Regions from separate parts of the Homo sapiens genome. Here region 2 is linked to region 1. Evidence: promoter capture Hi-C in 16 types of primary human blood cells and fetal thymus (Javierre and others, 2016). All regions are on one chromosome and are shown on one strand. Each heading gives the region's core, a stretch centred on a gene start or on the middle of the fragment in contact. The rest is flanking DNA. Distances are from core to core; before and after follow the strand shown.

Region 1 (7,948 bases), core at 2,650-5,149:
TATCACCAACCCTTAGAATTATGCCTAGCACACAGTAGGTACTCAGTAAACCTGTATTGCATAAATGAAATCATTGTTGCTCATACCTTATCATTAAAAATCAAGACTGGGTGCAGTGGCTCAAGCCTGTAATCCTAGCACTTTGGGAGGTGGAGGTGGGTGGATCACTTGAGGTCAAGAATTCAAGACCAGCCTGGCCAATATGGTGAAACCCCGTCTCTACAAAAATACAAAAAAGATTAGCTGGGCCTGGTGGTGCACACCTGTAATCCCAGCTGCTAGGGAGGCTGAGGCAGGAGAATCGCTTGCACCCAGGAGGCAGAGGTTGCAGTGGGCCGAGATCACACCACTGCACTCCAGCCTGGGCAACAGAGCGAGACTCCGTCTCAAAATAAATAAATAAATAAAAACATAATTTATCCAGTTGTAAACAAATAACCAAATAGGAAGTTACATAATAACCAGAAAAATTAACTAATTTGACTTTACTGTTTGAAGAACCAAAGGCTTCAGAAATTATGCAGGAACACAAAGTCAAAAATGCAAAAACATCAAATACTGTTAGGTCACTCTACACTACCGTGTGGTGTGGGGTGCGGTGTTCTGCATCAACATTGGCCTCTCTTAATGGTTAAGTCACTGCCTTAAATAAGTAGGATTCAAGATGTAGTTCCTTCACAACATTTATAGAGCTTTCTCTTCTACTCAATTTAACAAAATGCATTCCATGGTTGACATCAAATTACAAATTAATCTAAGATTCATGCTGTTTGATGACATGTTGCAATCTGGGCCTAACCAAAATAGTTACATAAAATCCAAAACTCTACTACTAATGCATTATTCAAAATGTGATGAGTCCAAGACAGGAATGCCTTATTTTAAAAGAATCAAAACAAAAGGGTCATTATGAGGATGCTTATATGAAAAAAACTGAAGTGAATTCCATTAAATTTTTATTTAAGTAATCTTAAATAGAAATCATTATAGTGTTGAAATGCCACTCTGAAAAATTTCTCACTAATACTCATTAAAAAGTTGAGGATATAAATGAAAGCAGTTCCTCTCTATAGAAAATCTGCTTTCCAGGCTGACCAACATGGTGAAATCCCGTCTCTACTAAAAATACAAAAATTAGCTGGGTGTGGTGGCACGTGCCTGTAATCCCAGCTACTCAGGAGGCTGAGGCAGGAGAATCACTTGAACCCGGGAGGCAGAGGTTGCAGTGAGCCAAGATCGCGCCACTGGACTCCAGCCATGGCAACAGAGCGAGACTTCGTCCCAAAAAAAAAAAAAGAAAAGAAAATATGTGTTCCATTTCCATTTTTCCAGAATTCTGAGGAACTAAATGAAAACAACCAAACTACACAAGCCTTATACCTTATGAATCCATTATACTGGAGCGACTGAATTAATTTTCCTCTGTAGCGGAAATTTTAATCTATGTAGACATTGAGTAGTTAACTTCTTTTTTACCACTAGAAGAATTCGTTTCAATATCAATCACCTGTGTGGTCAATGCCATTTCCCCTTCTTCCCTACTCAGTAACTTAGAGTGGAATCAACTATTCTTTCCTTTACTTTCTATCTTTTGTAATGCCATAGTTCTTACTCTTCTATAGGTAATGGATGCCTTTGAAAAACTGATGAAAGCCATGGGGCCCAGAAAAATAAATGTACCCATATACACTCAAATATTTTCATACAATTTCAGGAGTTTAAGAACCCCTATGCCCCAAGATCACCTACACAAATAATTTCTATCACCATATGGCTCTCTTTTATAATCCCATACCACAACTCCTTTACACTCATATACACACACAAATTAAGGACTAGTTCAGAGATTATTAACATAATACTCAAAATAAAAAAATTTCATCTAAGTAAAGTTGTATCTTACTAGCAAACTTCTAAGAATCCCAGATGAATTCTTTCCTGAAAAGCTTACTAAATCTTACTGTTTGGTCAACTTGCTTGCCTTAAAATGTGCCACAATGTCTTCCTAAATTTGTTTTTGTTAACTCTGACACATCTGCTTGTAAAATCACGTAAGGCTCAAAAGTTATGTTTGAGCAAAAAAAGAAAATTCATGTTAATATTAACAAACTCTTGGATTCAAATCTTGTTCTACCGTATCAAGCTATGTTCAACACGGAACAGTGAAGTTAGCTAGGAACCGGAACAGTGAAGTTAGCTAGGAACTGAAAATGATACGATCTCATAACTATCTAGTTACCTTGTCAAAGCAAGTAAAACATAAAAGATGAATCAGGACAAATGGCTAAAGGGAAGAGAAGAATATAATCAAGGTGTTACTACTAACAGAGATAAGTGTTTTTTTTTTTCTCGAAAGCATACTTCTTAAAAGTGGCAGATTCTTGCTAGACGTACCAAACCATTTGTGGAAACTATCAGTTAACTTTTTACTTAAATTTTTAATCACTGATTAAACCACAGTTTTGTACTGGATCCAAACCAAATGGCCAGATGCCATAAGAAACGGCTTTATTTATATGTCACCCTCTCCTTGTCTATTATAATCAAGTTGGTAGTTAAAGCTGAAATCTATACATTCAACATGTGGCTTGTGCTTCGGATCTGGACTAAGAATACAGCTCTAAGGAGTATCTGCTGAATTTGTACAGGAAAACCCTTTCCCCTCACACCACCCAAATTAGAAAGTTTACAAAAAGCGGAACCCTTCTGATGAGCTGAGGAAACTCCAGTATTTCCCAATGCAATACCAGGCCTCATCGATTTCATTCCTCTGCACATTCAGTGGCAGGAAATGGACTGCTACCATCGGTTCACACTATCAGCACGGTGAGATTTGCACAGTTTGTGCCTACTGCTTTTGAGCGTTCTTAATCAACTAAGTGGAAGTACTGTATGACTATGCCTATTACACACACTCGACAGTTGGTGGTACCTCACCCAGCCTCAAACTCCCACGCGCCCCCACCCTTCCAAAGAAACATTTCTTGGGAGAGCACATGGAGAGAGGCAAGGAGGAGGAAAAAGGCACGTAGGCGCCTCTTCCTGAGATTTCTGGTAAAGTAGAAAGACTGGGAGCATAAATAGTGTTCTTCTTGATTTGCGAAGCTGTAGGTGGGCTCCCAAGGACTTGGAATAAAAAGGAGGGAGGTTCCCCTGCCCCGGACCCTACGCGTTAGGAGGCAAAACAGCAACTAACAAGAAGTGGGAGGAGAATGGAATCGCGCAAAGGTTTGCGCCCACAAGTTAGACAAACAACAGCCCTACCCAGTACTCGGGGTGTCCCCAAGTTGGGGCTGGGCCTTTCTCCTTCCCGCACCGCCTCCCGGGCTGACAAGAGTGAGAAAGGGGTTAAGTAGAGAAGGGGGTGCTCTTCCGCCCCCACGCCGTCTCCGCGCCTCGGCGTGGCCACTCCTTTAGCGGCTCCCCGAGTTGCACAGCGAGGTCGCGGTCATCCTTGGGAGGGGGCCCCGGGTGCCCCCGTGTTCAATGGCAGGAGGATCCCGGGGCTCTCCCTGTCCCTAAGGCCGGCGGGGGCTGCGGGAGCACTCACCAATTTGGGTTTGTTTTTCGTTTCCTCTTCATTGGCGGCCCGGTTCCCCGCGCTCCGCTTGTTGCTCCGGCCCCCACCGGGTTCCTCGCTGCCGCCTCCCGCTCCCGACGCCGCCGCCCCGGGCTGCTCCATCTTTCTCCGGCCCTGTCACCTGTGCCCTGTAACCCCACCTCTCCTCAACTGAGAAAGCACCTCGGGGCGCTCACACTGCCCCGCGCTGACTCGGCGGCACCTCTTCCTGAGGGAGAGAGTGTCTGCCCGGGAAGCTGCCGATTTCAGGCCCCCGGGACTCCAGGCTCCCAGGCACCCCCGACGCAACCACGCCGTTGCCACTACTCGGCGCTGGGGCAAGCCCTGCCCCTGAGCAGTTGCAATTACCACGGTCGCCGCCGCCCTCAGGGCGGTGTTTAGGGTGGAGGGAAAAGTAGGTGCCTATCTCTTTAAGAGGGCCTCAACACACGTGATTCTTCAAAGTGCCCGCATCGGCCGCCCGGGCGCGCAAAGCTGCTTCCTACTCCCGCAGCCGAGCCGGCCCCAGCTACTGAGCATGCCCGGCGCGGTGACTGGAGCCTAACAGAGCACTTTCAGCTGCGGTTAGGCACTGATTTCACTTCCTAGTGGCCCAGCGAGAACAGGGAGGGAACTAGTCAAGAGAAAGGAAGGGTAGCCCATTTTAGAGATGGGGAAACTGAGGCCCGGGAAGATCCGCCTGTAAGTTTCACTGGCGGGTCAACCTGAGTATCAGCTTTCACTTCTGTGGGCCACAGCACCTTCCCTCCCTGAGGCCTCTCCGGGGGTGTGGTCCTGCTACAGTCTGTGGAAAGACTTGATTGGCAAGGGAACTGGCATCCTATAGGAAAACCACCGGGAGTGCTGATTAATTGCCTCGACAGACTGTGTGTGGGTCAGAGTGGAAAGAGTGAGTGCTTTCTGTTGTCGTGATTACGTTGTGACCGAAGAAATACAGTTGTTCCTTTATTCCCTTGCTGCAGGGTTGTTGAAGCAGCAGGCGCCCACCGCTTAATCCCTAGGGGATTGTTAGGTTCTATAACCAAAACACTTACATACAGCTAGCAATTGAATTGAGTGCTATTTTCAGGTTCCCGAACTAGTTTAGAGTTGTTGTGGGGAGTGAATAAGATCATGTGTGTCAAAGCTTTGTTGTAAATGAAAATCCCTAGACAAATGCTAGGTGTTTTTGTGCAGCAGCAGGGCACTGTTGGGACGATAGTCTTAAGTCCTTGCGTCATACCTAGCATTTTGTCCTCAGGACAAAATATAGTACCCACACTGTATTTCTTCCATCCTCTTTAAATGATGCCCTTTAAAAGTAAAGGTACACACTGAGAACATTAGACGGGGTGGGTAGGATTTGAATGAACCACCATCATAGAATAGGAGCACATATGCTAGGAAAGCTACCTATAAAGTAAATTTAAATATGAAATCTATAAACATGCCATACACCTATTACTGAAGATATCTCCAGACTATGACTCCTTTTGACCTTCTCCCCTTCGGCCTAAATTTAATATGCTGAATGGAATTTGTATCTGAACATATTTATTGAGAGTGCATTAGGATGCATTTGACCATGCTATAGGTGCAAGGAGACAGCTAACTTGGGCAGTAGAATGAAAAGAACACCAGATATCTGAAAACAGCTTTAATTCTAGCTTTGTCATTGTCATTAACTTTCTTTTTTTTTTAATTCTGAGACAGAGTTTCCCTCTTGTTGCCCAGGCTGGAGTGCAAAGGTGCAATCTCAGCTCACCGCAATCTCCACCTCCCGGGTTCAAGCGATTCTCCTGCCTCAGCCTCCCAAGTAGCTGGGATTACAGGGACCCACCACCACGCCCAGCTAATTCTGCATTTTTAGTAGAGATGGGGTTTCTCCGTGTTGGTCAGGCTGCTCTCAAACTCCTGAGCTTAGGTGATCCGCCTGCCTTGGCCTCCCAAAGAGCTGGGATTACAGGCGTGAGCCACCGTGCCCGGCTGACTTTCTTTTTAATCATGGAGGTGTGACTTCTCTACTCCTAAGGTGGCAAGCTACCAAAGGACAGCAGAGAAGAGGGAATACATGCTCCCAAACAGGGTGCTCAAGGAGCCCCATGGTAACTTTGCTTTGTTGAAGTTCCCGTTTTACTTACTTAAAGTTTAGTGTATATTTTGAATTCAACTCACTACATACACACACACACAAACACAATTTATATAAATGTCTCCTCTCCTGAAAAATTGAGTCAAAATGGGTGCTTCAGAAAGACATGACCTGTTTAGCCAATGCGTAATTCCTGTTTGTGCCATAGGTGTGGTCCATAGCTGAGGGCCCTCCAAGCGCAAACATGGTTCAGTAATCTGCCCAGTAGACATTTCTTCAGCTCCTTAGAGTACACTAGGTGATACAGAGTGTCATGAGTAAGAAGGATGAAGATGACACAGTTTCCGCCTTTTAGAACTTCAGAGCCTACTGGGAGAGACAGACCATTAAAGAACTGCACTGCACTATAACAGATATGAACAGGAAGCCTTTGAAGCACATGAAAGAGGTAACTATCGGAGTGTCAGAGGCTCAGGGACACCTTCCCAAAGAAGATGATGTTTGAGCTGAGTCTTAAGGGTCTGATTCAAGTTAACATTTGTTGGCAGCCTACTAAGTGTGAGGTACTGTGCAAGGCATCATGAGTACAGTGGTGAACAAGACAGACATGGTTTGGTCTTAGGGAGCTTTCATGCTATCGGGAAAGATATATATAGTTTCACTCTTATTGCCCAGGCTAGAGTGCAATGGCGCAATCTCAGCTCACGGCAACCTCCGCCTCCCAGGTTCAAGCGATTCTCCTGCCTCAGCCTCCCGAGTAGCTGGGATTACAGGCATGTGCCACCACGCCTGGCTAATTTTGTATTTTTAGTACAGATTGGGTTTCTCCATATTGGTCAGGCTGGTCTCAAACTCCCGAACTCAGGTGATCCGACTGCCTTGGCCTCCCAAAGTGCTGGGATTACAGGCATGAGCCACTGCGCCCAACCTTGGGAAAGATATTAAAAATGTATTAAGCAATTACAAGGCAAATAAGGACAGTGAAGGGCATTCAGGCAAAGGAAATGACAATAGCATGTGCAGAAGCCCTGTGGTTAAGAAATTGGTGGGGAGCTGGGGAGACTGTTGGCAGGAGAAGCAGCAGAACAGATAAGGAGTTTCCAGATTGAAGCCCCCTACTTAATAAGTTTCATTACTGTTGTTTAAAAAGTGGAAGGGGGTCAGGCACGGTGGCTCACGCCTGTAATCCCAGCACTTTGGGAGGCTGAGGTGGGTGGATCACCTGAGGTCAGGAGTTCGAGACCAGCCTGGCCAACATGGAAAAACCCAGTCCCTACTGAAAATACAAAAATTAGCAGGGCATGGTGGCAGGTGCCTGTAATCCCAGCTACTCAGGAGGCTTGAGGCAGGAGAATGGCTTGAACCCGGGAGGCAGAGGTTGCAGTGAGCCGAGATCATGCCACTGCACTCCAGCCTGGGTGACAGAGCGAGGCTCTGTCTCCATAAAAATAAAAACTAAAAAGTGGAAAAGCAGAATAAGGAGGCCATTGTAATATGAATTACTTCTGTTTAGAACGTATAAATAGACTTGAAAATGTATTGATATTATTTTGAATGTAAGGTTGGGTTTCATCATCCTCAGGCCAGGTTAATCTGCATGTCATATCCAGTTAGAAGTACATGTAAAAGATTGATAATCTTTTCTGCAAAAAATGAAAGTTTGTCCCTGATATGTCTTACATTTGACTTTATTGTGGTTATTTTGGCCCGTCTTAATTCTTGATGTTTTTTTCAGCATTTTGCTCTAGTTAATGTAAACAGTGGTTTAAAAACAAGCAAAAACCTTTCCTTCAGGCTTCAGGGTCATTGGCCTGGCAGAAACTAACACAGGAAAGGAGCCACTGCTCTCGGTAAGGACTCTTTGTCCACTGATTATGAACCAAGCACCTCACCAATTGTGGTCCTACAGCAGATCTCTCTGCATCTGTAATCCTTTATTTTTACCCTCCTGGGTCACACAAATAGGTTGGTGGATGGAACATCTCTTCTCTGATGCTGAAGAAAGAAGGAGGCTACCACCATCAATTGGGATATCAAAACTTAAATGTATGTTAGAACCACTGACCTTGTGGTCTCTCCCTCTGGACTCTCATGAATGTAGCACCCAATCAGCATTTAAAAGCCAGTCCTGGGGGAGACCAATAAAAGGCTACTGGGTTCTGTCTTCAAACTGACCTTAGAGCCATCTATTACCCCTGAGGATTTCTGACCATCCTGATAGTACCCCTCTGAGTTTCTATGTCTCCCGTCTACAGTGTATTCTCATCTGAACAGTCTGTGTCGTTCATAGATGAAAC
Region 2 (7,948 bases), core at 3,335-5,834, 880 kb before region 1:
AAAAAAAAAAAAGGAAGTCACAGGAGACTAGCACAAGTTCCTGCTTCAAGGCATTCTCTGACATCAGCCTTCACTTCGTACTTCTGCTCAAAGTACCTGATTTGACAAAGTGCACAGAAAGTCAGAAGACAAGCCTCTTCACCTCCTCTCCAAAACTGTCTGACAGGAGTCAACAATGATTCTTTCACAAAGCTACAATCTAACAGTTTTAGATGAAAGTCCAAGGGGAAACTTTCTAGCTATACCTTACAATATTTTATTAAAGAAGGGTGTAAAAATGCATTTGCCTCAGTGGGGCTATTTTCCTCCTCTGGTTCAACTCAATCCATTTTAACAGTTGGCAGTTTAAATAACAGAAGTTACAGGCTGCCATGCACAGACGCTTTGCATGCCATATGAAAGCAAAGGATTCAGAGATGGAAGCAAAAACGGAAAGATGAAAAAAAAAACCAGCCTCTATTCTATAAAAGAATTTCTTTAATAACAGCAGCTAGGTAAAATTTCTTTGAGCTTGTGTCCTTCTCCTACTGTTTTATATAAAGCAGCTACCATACTTGTCTTCCTAGGCTACATCTGACAGACTGTCAAAAGCAAACAACTTTTCCCCTTATATTGCAATAATCATCTACTGTATTTTTAATGTACTCAAAACAAATTTTCTTATTATACAATAACGGTGACAATCCTCCCTATATTCCCAATGTAAAATGATATATTTTAAAGACGATAATCATAAAAGCAGCCTATCCATAACTACTATTTTTAGGTTAAATAAAATATCAACATTTTTTATTCATGTTTAGGTTAATGTGTGCAATTCAGCTGTTTGCAATATTTACATGGAATTGAATATATTATGAGAAAACTTGAAAAAAGCAAAAGAGCCAAGTTTAAGACTGGTTCTTTCTTGGGTGGCTTTTTATCCTTACTGGCCACCTATTATTACCTTCATCATATAACATTAAAGAAAAAACAGAGACTTGGTGCTAGCTGGAGGATCCCATTATTACCAATGTCTCTGTGCCCACCAACTGTGACTTACTCGGTTTTGAACGTGCACTATATTATCATTTAGAATCAAAGTATGTATATTTTTATAAAATGTGCTGTGGTTACAAGGATTAATAGATACAACATAATTCATAATCTGAATTCTGACACATTCAGATTATAAATTGATTAGTACAGAGGAAGAGGAGGGATTAGGTTCTGTCCTTGCATTTTGATCTACATAAGCTAATTAAATATAACCTTGTACATATAAACTAACTTTGGTAGCAATGGCAATGTCTGTATCATTAAAGGCCAATGATAAGTACATCTTCTGTAGGCCAAATCTAAGGGTTTTCTCTTAGGAGAAATAGCTCAGAAATAATTAATATATAAGAAAATACATAAAGTGCCTTCCTGTTGAACAGTGAGAAACAACTCTACTCCTCCTTGGCTTCCCCCATTTTAGATTCCCTGGCTTTAAAGCACACTAGAGAGGAGATTAACTGATATTTTGCATCAAATGACTACCTTCCCTAAGTATCTCCAGCTTCTACAGCATTTTTTAATGCACTATCACATTATGCATTCTGAGATTTGGTACAGTTTGTTCTCTCTTTGTCTATCATTTACAAGAGAGTGAAAGCTAGTCACAATTCATCATAAACCTGAAGACTGATTATCCCCACACTTTTTCTTTTCTTGGACTAAATATTTCCAAATTCATTCATCTCTCATCATAGAGTCAAGCAGAAAGGAGTTTAGATACCACAGCAGTTCTCAATTCATGCACATTAATATAGTGTTTTAAAATATATATATAAAACATATTTATACAAAGACCAGAGAAGAACTGAACACTATACATACATATATATATGTGTGTGTGTGTATATATACATATACACATATGGCCTTCTAATCATAAGGCCTTCTAGTATATCTATCTATCTATCTATCTATCTATCTATCTATCTTCTAATATATATATATATATATATATATATATATATATATATATATATATATTAGAAGGCCTTATGAACTTGTATAATAGTTTGAGGATAATCAATGGAACATAGAATTTTAGAGCTGACAGGAAATTTATGAATTATTTAATTGAAATCCAACCCTTCATTTTAATAGACGATGACACTAAGTTCCAGAGAACAGATTTAACTTGTCATAAATAGTCTACACAACAAAGATATGAAACTGAGAGGCTTCAGTCAGAGAATGGGACATAACGTAATGAACCACATAACCATAATTATTCTATCATTCATTTATTGGATAATAATATAATTAAGCTTTGATAAATTATATATTTATGAAGAAAGATAGCAATAGCATGACAGACCATGATCATCTGGTGATCCCATATAATAATCACTCTATAGAAGTAATTAGAGAATAGCAGTAAGTTTGAAACTTTTGTAATTTTATAATAATACAACATTCAGGAATTCAGTTATTTGGTAAGGAAAAGTTCACCGGATCCTATAATCTGCATTTTGATGGGCCTGAACCATATTTATATCACGCACTATCCACAAAGTCCTTAAGTACACATTTATACAAAGACCAGAGAAGAACTGAACGCAATTATGTGGACTAGCACCTTGGAGAGATGAACTTTGGGATGGATGGATGGATAGCTATGGCTATGCATATACACACATGCATATATATTTACATGTAGGTACAGACATATATGTTCGATGTTTGATACCACATCTTTATTAAAAGGTATAAGACATAGTTAAGATTGAAAAGTGAAAATCTCTTCTGATAAATGCAAGTTAGAAAATCCATCTATACTGCCCTCTCTGGTAACTTCATCATGGTCCACATTGTTGATAGAAGCTCAAAGCTGCTGATATCATGTTAATGTTCACTGTCATTGCTTTTGTCAATCTTTGTCCTTACCTTAATTTTATTTATATATGGTATGTGTTTTAGCATTCCAGACACTGTCTGCAGGGTTTTACAGTGAGCTGGGTATTTTAATTTAGGTTGATTGGTAATAAAATATCATTCAAAGCCAACTGTCAGGTGAACAAGTTAAATGAAAGCTCTGTCGCATAAAGTCTCTGTTTCCAATTATTCTCTGGAATTTAAATGAGCAAAACGTCATCAACAGAGGTCTTTAGAACTCGAAGAGAAAGCAATACTTTTTTGCATCTATTCTTTATGCCACCTACTTTTAGGGATCTCTTTGCTATAAAATACCATTCACTTCACTGATTTCAACTCTATAATTCTTTTGCTGAACAATTATCTCCTCATCTAGCTTTCTTACTCATGCAAGCCACAAACATAGTGTGACTAGAGTAAAAGGAGATAAATGTTTTTGCATACATGGGTTATAGAAAGAAATCACATTATGGCCACATTTCCCATTTCTAGGAAATTTCCTTTCTCCTCCCAGATGTTCTCCTTTCCTTTTGTTACACAAGACAGTTTTCAAGTTAATCTTTCTAGAGATTCATACCAGCAGCTATTTTGCCCCCACCTTAAAATATTGGTTATCATGTGGTGCACATTTCCAATATCAATATTTAAGGAGTCATACAGAAGCTAGTATTGTGGTCATCCCAATTCAGTATTCATAATGTTAAGTGATGAGTTAGAAAACTTTCTCAGAGTTAATATCTTATTGTACCAACCACCCCTTGATGCTTCTTCCATTTTACACTCCTTCTATTTTGTTATTTATGATTTTCCAAAAACTGTCCTTGTTTGTGTTATCTGACATGTCATGATACATTACATTCCCAGTGTTATTGGTCAGCATGCCAATAACATGCTCCCCTTTAAATAAACCCTCAAACGGTTTTATCAGCTCCTAACTTTTATTTAATTGAAATTATTAAAGTAGTAGAAAATCTTGCTTCATGTTTGGATTCTACTCAAATTGTTTGTATAATTTTGAATTGCTTTGTATCAAAATTTCCAACCACTCTTTTTTTTTTTTTTTTTTTTTTTTGAGATGGAGTCTCGTTCTGTCGCCCAGGCTGGCATGCAATGGCGCAATCTCCACTCATTGCAACCTCCGCCTCCCAGGTTCAAGCGATTCTCCTGCCTCAGCCTCCTGAGTAGCTGGGATTACAGGCACGCACCACCATGCCCGGCTAATTTTTGTACTTTTTAGTAGAGATGGGGTTTCACCATGTTGGTCACGCTTGTCTCGAACTCCCAACCTCAGGTGATCTGCCCACCTCGGCCTCCCTCCAACCACTCTTATAAATAAATTTTATAGCAACAATATACAGTTTTTTAAATGAGGAAAAAAGCAACACACTTGTCTTTTTAAAAAGATCTTCCTTAAAAATATGCTGCTTCCTACAAATTTATTTTATATGTTTAAAACTATACTATTCTCTATAACACACTGAGACTAGCCACTTAAAAGGCACAATGGAACAAGGGAAGGACCACTGTCCTGGGCTCGGAAGAGGACTGCCTGCTGAACTGATGCTTAGTTTTGTCACATCAGAATAGGGATAATAGTTCAGACTTCAGATGGTTACTACCAAGATCAAGTGAAGTCCCCTTTGTAGAGTACCAGGCAAAGATCTGTGGTACATAGTAGATCTTCAGTTCATTCAGCATATTAGCTGCATATAAATCTGAATCTTAGCTGCCTGGACTTAATAAACACATCTCAATGTACCAACTATTAACTGACAGGTAAAGGTCAAGAAAGAGCTATTGAGTAGCTATTGAAAGGTAGGGAGGCAGAATAAATAAGGCAATCACAGGCTTAAACTTTCTGTATTCATTTAGTGGAGACAAAGAATTCAGGTTGTGCAAGGATTTAAAATGCAGATTGTCAGGATTTATAAGGAAAAGATTTATTCTTTTCTCATTACTATAATAAACAGTGATCAAAAAATGCTTCATCAGACTTACAGTAGATAAAGAAGGGAAGTACAACTTCAATTAAGTCCTTGATTTATAGATAATGTTGCAACATCACAAACAATGAACATCATATTCTACCACAATCTATTTACCAAGATGTGTGTAGTTATTATGTGTTTTAGGGGTGTGATGGGGAGTCATTTTTCATTGTATTCTTTTCAAATTAGTATGCATTTAAATCACTGTTACAGAGAGAAAATTCAAATCAACATTAAACTTACATTCTTTCAAATCCTCTTTCAATAGATGTCAACATACACACATTATTATAGATATAATCAGCGTTTATATACTCTTTTGTGATCTAATTCTTTCACTTAACATTGTTTTATGTATACATTTCCATGAATTGTCACCTAACGGCACCACCTTGAAATTGTACCTGTTTCTCTACAGCTTCTCCAACACCTCACTTAGTGCTTAGCCATCACAATACATATATGTCGCTACCTGTTACTTTGTTGTTGTATTTCTTTACTTGCCAGTGAAAAATGTGTTTTTCCATGTGATGATTTACTATGTAAAATTTTTTACATGTAACATTTCTCTCTTCACCTCTTTCTTTTCCCTATGTGAAACGTGTGCAGGCCCTTCAAACACATTCTGCCTGATATAAACATAATTAAATTTGTTGACAAATTTGCTGTCAGTTGTTGAGGACAAGGGCTGCAACTCACAGCTTTCTCTCTGCAAATGCTTTCCACAAAGTATTCCATGCATTGTTCTGGAATTGGATATTCTCTAAGGTCCAAAAATTCCTATAATGGCAGGAACTTCACCTTCTATGTGTTTGGATCATCCTGGCATTTAATACATATATACGATGAATAAAAATAAGAAACTTGCATGATTTTAAAGTCATATAATTGGATAAATATTTCAAGAAAATCTCTATTCCTATCCTCACAAATATAAAGCATACCTTCCCGTTGCTCCCTACAAGTTATCTCGCAGAAAAAAAGAGGAAGATGTCTTACATTCAAGTGCTTAATTCCAAGGGACATTTTCCAAATTATTCTTAATAATGTACTCTCTGGAAAACACGCATTAGTCTGGAACAACTTAATATGGGTTTTAGATGCTTATGATGTAAACGTACAAAATTGGGGAAGGCAGTTAAGATAATGAAATTTAACACAGACCTATTAATTGTTTACAGGGTGTGACGTCATAGTACTAAGTGTTGGAGATCATTGTAAACAAGCCTTTGAAAGATTACTTAAGATTTCCCTGCAGTAAATACCTAACGAAGATCACCAATATACACATGCAAGATGAATGGAAAAGCCAATGGACCTAGTGGTATGCAAATGAGTATTTGTGGCTTGCGGAAAAAGCCTGACATTGATACTCTGATACACAGATTAAAGTGTTGTATCTCTAAAAACTTAGGTGGACATGAATGTAATATGCTCTGGAAAACTGTTAGATGACACAAAAATTAGCTCCAGTGCTTCTAGAAACACCAATGTCAGAGATACGCGTGAAGTTTCAATAGAATTGTTTTACAAAATGAGATAGTGGGGAGGAAAAGCAAAGTATCATACCTGAAGAGATTATTCTGCATCATCTACAATTTGAATATATCTGTATAACTAAACAAATTAAATTTCATAACTACACATTTCACTGTTTCGTCTACATTTCTAAAAGTCCAGCTACACTCAAAATGGTCATAAAACTTTTTTAAAGTTTTATTAGGAAAATGTGGGCTCACCTTATCCACCATATTTATTACAACTTTTTGAATCCAGGGTTGTATAAATAGCTCACTTAGCTCACAACAATAGTAAGAGCTGCTGTTTACTTAGCATTTAGTGGATACCATGCACTGTGTTAAGTGACTTGCATATATTGCGTCAATCATTCTTAAAAGGATCCCGTATGATAGGTATTATAAAACCATTTTACAAATGAGAAGAGTAAGCCTCCAAGAAATTAAAAAGCTTGCATAAGATCATGTAGTTAATAAGTGGTGGACATCTGTGGAGTTTCAAAGTCCGTAAGCTGACCCCCATACCAGATGGCATCCACAAGCACTAAGCCTGGATTTCTAGGTCCATGACTTTGACAGGAAGGTACTTTGTGTAAATGCAGGTGGAGTCCAAAGTAGGACAAGAACAAGAAGCTTTGCAAACCATTACCAGTATTACTATCTTCAATACTAATCCTTTTAATACTTTAAAAATATTTTTAAAACTAAAGCCATGAAGAATACCAAATTCATGATCAATTTAGCCTTGTGATTCTATTTTTGGTGGGAGTCACCAAGGGATGCTTTGTAGAAAGGATGGCTTTTCCTCCTTGGTTTCTCTTACAAAGCAACCATGTATCTATAGTGCATGAGTTGACCTGAATCACTTCACTTTTTAAACATGCTATTTCTTTAGAACTTCCAGGATAAGTTGTTCTGTGAGTCATGTATGGTACTTCCCTTTCCCCATTTGTTTCTGCAATGCTTCAAAGATACCCTTTACTATGGTTTGAGTGTTTGTAGTCCTCTAAAATTTATGTTGAAACTTAATTCTTACTGTAGCTGTATTAAGAGGTGGGACCTTTGGAGAAGTGATTAAGTCATAAGGGTTCTATCCTCATGAATGGGATTAATGCCCTTACAAAAGAGGCCTTAGAGAGCTCCCTGGCCCTTCTACTCCTTCTGCTATGCGAGAACACAGCGTTTGTCCATTTCACAATGTGAGGATACAGCAAGAAGTGTCATCTTGGAAGCAGAGAGCAAACACTCATCAGACATTAAATCTGACAGCACCTTGATCCTGGACTTCCCAGCCTCTAGAAATGTAAGCAATAAATTTCTGTCGTTTACAAATTACCCAGTCTCAGGTAGAGCAGCCTGAACAGATTAAGGTTTCAACATGCTTGGGTTTGGTAAATAGGTTTGCATTTATCCTATCCAAATGTTTATGATTTCTTGATTTCAAAAACACTGAGCATAGCCTCTGCATCCTTACACTGTAGAATGGATGAACATTGTGTCCTCACATGGCAAAAGGAGTGGAAGGGCCAGGCAGCT

The links. The method cuts DNA at HindIII sites, captures the fragments that hold promoters and counts their contacts. A CHiCAGO score of 5 or more calls a contact.
Region 2: a contact is called between a fragment that was not itself captured here and the fragment with the promoter of DIAPH2 in region 1, in 1 of 17 cell types (total B cells). The highest score is 7.1, in total B cells.

Annotation. Positions count from the first base shown.
Region 1 is chrX:96,680,793-96,688,740 of GRCh38, reverse strand. DIAPH2 (diaphanous related formin 2) reads right to left here and starts at 3,899. Exons shown (of 27, transcript NM_006729.5): 1 at 3,551-3,899. The coding sequence starts at 3,682. RefSeq lists enhancers at 2,682-3,395, 3,396-4,111. The HindIII fragment of the contact is 2,760 bases long and covers 1,949-4,708 here.
Region 2 is chrX:97,564,147-97,572,094 of GRCh38, reverse strand. All of the region lies in intron 26 of DIAPH2 (diaphanous related formin 2), which reads right to left. It overlaps DIAPH2-AS1 (DIAPH2 antisense RNA 1), which reads left to right and starts at 7,560. Exons shown (of 3, transcript NR_125391.1): 1 at 7,560-7,715. The HindIII fragment of the contact is 4,563 bases long and covers 2,303-6,865 here.